Regions from separate parts of the Homo sapiens genome. Here region 1 is linked to region 2. Evidence: promoter capture Hi-C in 16 types of primary human blood cells and fetal thymus (Javierre and others, 2016). All regions are on one chromosome and are shown on one strand. The core of a region is centred on a gene start or on the middle of the fragment in contact, and the rest is flanking DNA. Distances in the headings are between cores, read along the strand shown. Region 1 has its middle 11 kb from the start of DTX4. Region 2 holds the start of OR4D6 (olfactory receptor family 4 subfamily D member 6).

What was found. The method cuts DNA at HindIII sites, captures the fragments that hold promoters and counts their contacts. A CHiCAGO score of 5 or more calls a contact.
Region 1: a contact is called between a fragment that was not itself captured here and the fragment with the promoter of OR4D6 in region 2, in 2 of 17 cell types (M1 macrophages and M0 macrophages). The highest score is 5.8, in M1 macrophages.

The regions. Positions count from the first base shown.
Region 1 is chr11:59,159,722-59,162,548 of GRCh38, forward strand. No RefSeq gene overlaps it. Among named protein-coding and RNA genes, the nearest start is that of DTX4, 11 kb to the right of the region's middle. The HindIII fragment of the contact is 6,486 bases long and covers 1-2,827 here.
Region 2 is chr11:59,455,522-59,458,327 of GRCh38, forward strand. It overlaps OR4D6 (olfactory receptor family 4 subfamily D member 6), which reads left to right and starts at 1,440. Exons shown (of 1, transcript NM_001004708.1): 1 at 1,440-2,384. The coding sequence starts at 1,440. The coding sequence ends at 2,384. The HindIII fragment of the contact is 6,869 bases long and covers 1,036-2,806 here.

The DNA of each region.
Region 1 (2,827 bases), core at 189-2,688, 300 kb before region 2:
CTGTCTACTATATCGATGTTAACATGCTAATTAGGCCAGATGGCAAGAAGTAATCAACTACCTTGGAGGTGCCGGTACACATGCATTTCAGGTGACAGGAAATAAACCCCGTGAGGAATCAGAGGCCCCCTAAATCAGGGGCATGCTAAGACCACCCATCCAAAGAAAAGGATGAATTATTGAATCTTGCATACCCCATGAAGAAAAAGAAAGTACACTGCCTGATAAATCTCTTTGGGTTCTGAAGGTAGCATATTCCATGCATGGGTATACTGTTTCAGCCAATTTACAGGGGATGCTATAGGCTGCCAGCCTTGAGTGGGGTCTGGATTAGGAAAGGGTCCCAGAAGATCCAAGCTATAGTGAAAACAGTACAGCTGCTTGGACCATGTGCCCTGGCTGACCCTCTGGTATCAGATGTGGGAAAAGATACCATGTGGAGTTGATAGCAAGCCCAAGTGGGAAAATTACAAGGCAAAGTTTTGGGGTTCTGGAGAAAGCCCGTGTTTTTTGCAGTGGATAGTTATATATCTTTTGAATAACAACTCCTTTTGAATTATATACTGTTTGAATATACCTTTTGGGCCCTGGTAGGGAGCACCTAACCATGAGACATTAAGTGACTCTGCATCCAAATCTCGCCATTTTTTAGTGAGTTCTATCAGAATTATCAAGTCATAATGTCAAGTGTGGCCAAAAAACCAGTCTCTCGTATGATGGAGTTGGAATGCCTAGCATTGTGCAGCATGAGCAGGAAAGGAGACCACAAGTGAGTTGTATGACAAATGTGTGGAGCAGGCTCCCAAAGATGTTCACACCATAATCCCTGGAATATGACCATGTAGGTTATATGGGAAAAGGGAATTAAGACCGCTAATCATCTAAGTTTAAGATAGCAAGGTTATCTTGGATATCTGGATAGCCTGATGTAAGCACGATGATTCTTAAAGGTGAGAAAAGGGAGAATCAGAGATTCAGAGGGAAACGTGACCATGAAAGAGGCACAGAGAGATGCAACACTGCTGGCTTTGAAGATGGGGGAAGGGGTCATGAACCAAGAAATGTGAGTGAGCTCTAGGAGAAAGAAAAGGCAAGGAAACAGATTCTCTTCTAAACCTTCCAGAAGAGAACTGAGCCATAATGATACCTTGATTTTAGTCCAGCGAGACCCATGTCAGGTATCTGACCTATGTAGGCCTATACATCAGCCTGGGAAACAAAGGGTAGAGGCAGGAAGGGCCCTGCTTAGCTTTATCTGTATCCCTAATAACACACTTAGGGAATTTGTGCTTCCTGTCTCTCCCTCTGCCATCCATGCCCCTGCCAGCCCCCAGGTCAGGGCTCTGTAGGATGAAAGGTCCTGATTCCCTGTGGGGGCACACTTCTGCCAGGGGACACGGAAAGAGTCCTGCTGAACTCTAAGCTATAGCTTCTGCCTGTCACTGCAAAGACTTTGTATCCAGAGACCAGTATGCAAGAAGAGTCATTGCCTGGGCTCAGGCAATTAACCCAGTTCTTCAGGAGGAGGAAGTGCTTATGTGACACAGTAAGGGCAGGGAGAAATGTGTTTGCCACTCACATGATCCATTTGGACCCTACTTGACCAAATTTGATAGTAAACAGACAATTACACCACCATAGCTTGAAAATAGCATGGCAGCCAGGGTCTCAGACCCCTCAGAAATGAAGATTTGGGTCCTGCCACCAGGTAAGACACCAATACTAGGAGAAGCATTACCTGAGGCTGAGGCTGATATAGAATGGACACCAGAGAAGGGAGAGAGTAAAAATCAGTTACATCCCCTAAATCAATTGCTGTGAGAAAAATGAGAATTCTCTCCGAAATTCCAAATAAAATAAATTCTCCCTTTATTTATTATTTTATTTATTTGAGAGAATTATCTCTCAAATTCCAGCTGTGCATTGTACCAACTGGAATTTGAAAGTGAAAAAATACCATTTATTTGAGCAATTTCCCTCCTTCCCATCCAAACTAACTTGCTGAGATTTTGATTGCATTTGCAATGAATCTGTAGAACAAGTTGGGAAGAACTGATAACTTGACAATACTGAGCCTTTCTATAAATGTACATTGACTATCTCTCCATGTATTTAGTCATTCTTTGATTTCATTTATCGGAATTTTGTAGTTTTCTTCATATAGAGCTTGTTCAGTCTTTTCAGATTTATGCCCCAGCTGTCTCTTCCCAGTGGAGTTGTATAGATAGTGCTATTTCTCCCAGCCACAATGTGTGACAATACACATGAAGTATCATCAGCCAGGGAAGCTCACCTGAGCTTCAGTGTCAGGGTTTTTACTGGGGGCTATTCATGTAGATATGGCTGACCTTAGTCTCCAGATCCTCCAGAAGTGGTGCTGATAATGTGTGGTCCAAGTCCACCACTATAAATATTAAATAAAATAGACTTCAGATCAGAGAAAATTACCAGAGACAGAGAGTGCTATTATATAATAATAAAAGGATTGATCACCTAAAAGACACAGTAATTACAGGTGTGCAAGCACAAAACAACAAAGTGACAAAATATGTTAAGCAAATCCTGATATAACTAAAAGGATAATAGGCAAATCCACAATTATAGTTAGAGAACTCAACATCCTCCTCTCTCAACAACTTATAGAACAACTATACAGAAAATCAGCCTGGATATGGAAGAACGGAACAACATGATAAACCAACAGGGTCTACTGGTCATTTATAGAACACTTCATCCAACAGTAGAGTACACATTCTTTTCAAGCACCCACAGAGTGAATACAAAGATAGATCATATCCTAGGCCATGACACAAACCTCAACAAATTT
Region 2 (2,806 bases), core at 190-2,689:
TATTATATAGCAATAGTAGAATATCCCTGGAATTTGAGTCAACAAACCTGTTTACAGTTCTCTATATTTCACCAATTCAAACTCTGATTCTGAAAAAAATAAATGTCCTTCTCTAGTCACTTCTAAAGTAAGAAACATTAGACTAATTTATCTCTGAAGTCCTGTGACGCTCTAATGATCAGTTTTTCTGTGATACTAAAACATGCCCTGAACAATGACTGTGGCTCTATACAAAGAGCCCTGTGTGTCAATAGCAAGGTCCAGGCTTCCCAGAGTGCCAAAGAGGAGTACTTATGAGGGCCTGACCCTTCTCTTTTTATAAGGGATGAGATAAGGATTAGGTAGTCAAACTACTTAATAAACTGTTTAAGCCTTATATACACACTAGAATTCCGGTAAGCCAAAGTAAGCCCCAGACTCTCTGATTTCTCAGAGTTGTACAGTGGAAAAACCTCTGGAGACTGTTATGTTAAAGAAAAATTATTCACCAGACAATTATTAAAGACAGGAAGATAGATTTCATTTAAAACTCTTGCAATAGAAGAAAAAGATTGAGCTCAACTCGAAATATAGTGAAAACAAGTGAAGATTTATAAGCAATGAGCAGAGTGAGGGAGGTCAGTGGATTGAAAATTACTAAGAAGTGATATCAAAGGTAGGGTGGTTCTTGCTAAACTGGCATAAAAGAATTCTTGCTAAAGACTGGCCAAGGACTTAGATATTGAGGGTGAGGGATGAGGTTAAAAATAATAAATATATAAAAGGGTAAGGGGTGAGGAATTTGATTAGATTTCAAGGGTGTGGAATTCTCATTAAACTGACTTGGCAAGATTCCTGTTAAAATTGGGCTCAGCAAAGACAGACACAGAAGGTCAAGGTTGAGTCATAGTCAAGAAAAGGGCTCAGAGGAGCCTAACCAACATTTGGTCAAGGAGGGAATCTTTCTCAAGTCAGGAGATTGATTTGTATTTGAATCCTCAATTTACAATTCACTAATTTTGCGACTATGCAGATGTAAGTCATTAACTGCTGTAAAGCTTCAGTTTCCCCGTATATAAAATGGAGATAACCATACTAAAGACTCTTCAGAAACTTCATGAGAATTGAAATCAGTATGAGCTATTGCAGGTGAAAGCCCTTGGTAAAGCATAGGCAAATGGCCATAGTCCATCCATCTCTCTCTGGTCAGAGTGAGGATACAGACATGTGATGGTTTTTTCCTGTTAACCCAAGGTATTTACAATAAGAAAGAAGAACCATATGAAAGAAGAATTTCCAGACCACAAAGAGAAGACTGGCCCAGTTTTTCTGTGTAGTCATGATGACCTGGATGCTTGAGAGCAGTATGTGATCAATGATTTTGCCACCTCATGTCACCATAATCCAAGTTCTAACATATCTTCATCAAAGGTAGGACCTGGAAGAGAGTCATCCCCATCATGGACCAGATCAACCACACTAATGTGAAGGAGTTTTTCTTCCTGGAACTTACACGTTCCCGAGAGCTGGAGTTTTTCTTGTTTGTGGTCTTCTTTGCTGTGTATGTAGCAACAGTCCTGGGAAATGCACTCATTGTGGTCACTATTACCTGTGAGTCCCGCCTACACACTCCTATGTACTTTCTCCTGCGGAACAAATCAGTCCTGGACATCGTTTTTTCATCTATCACCGTCCCCAAGTTCCTGGTGGATCTTTTATCAGACAGGAAAACCATCTCCTACAATGACTGCATGGCACAGATCTTTTTCTTCCACTTTGCTGGTGGGGCAGATATTTTTTTCCTCTCTGTGATGGCCTATGACAGATACCTTGCAATCGCCAAGCCCCTGCACTATGTGACCATGATGAGGAAAGAGGTGTGGGTGGCCTTGGTGGTGGCTTCTTGGGTGAGTGGTGGTTTGCATTCAATCATCCAGGTAATTCTGATGCTTCCATTCCCCTTCTGTGGCCCCAACACACTGGATGCCTTCTACTGTTATGTGCTCCAGGTGGTAAAACTGGCCTGCACTGACACCTTTGCTTTGGAGCTTTTCATGATCTCTAACAACGGACTGGTGACCCTGCTCTGGTTCCTCCTGCTCCTGGGCTCCTACACTGTCATTCTGGTGATGCTGAGATCCCACTCTGGGGAGGGGCGGAACAAGGCCCTCTCCACGTGCACGTCCCACATGCTGGTGGTGACTCTTCACTTCGTGCCTTGTGTTTACATCTACTGCCGGCCCTTCATGACGCTGCCCATGGACACAACCATATCCATTAATAACACGGTCATTACCCCCATGCTGAACCCCATCATCTATTCCCTGAGAAATCAAGAGATGAAGTCAGCCATGCAGAGGCTGCAGAGGAGACTTGGGCCTTCCGAGAGCAGAAAATGGGGGTGAGCAGTCAGATGGAGAGTGGAAGTCTGTCTGACTTAGTTTTCTCAAAATGCTAGCCTAAGAGTAACAGGTCGCTAGCTCTTCTTCCACTACTTCATTGTATATCTTCATAGCCGCTCGATTCTATTAGCGGGAGTATACAAACAAAAAGAAGAAATGAGATTAAACAATGTGAGCTATCGAGCTTGTGGACTCAGGAGAAGAAGAGGGTATAAGGTTGAAATCAATACCCTAAATGCTTTTTGGTGTTACCTGTGACTCATACCAACACTTATCTCACTTTTAGCACCAGTAATATGGAAATATCATTACTTGCTCACAAGTTTGTCAAAAGAATGAAATGTGATCAATGCTGTGAGGATGATAGTTGTGAAGGTTAGTACTGCTCCTGGCATTAATCAGGTATTCAATCAACATTCCCTATT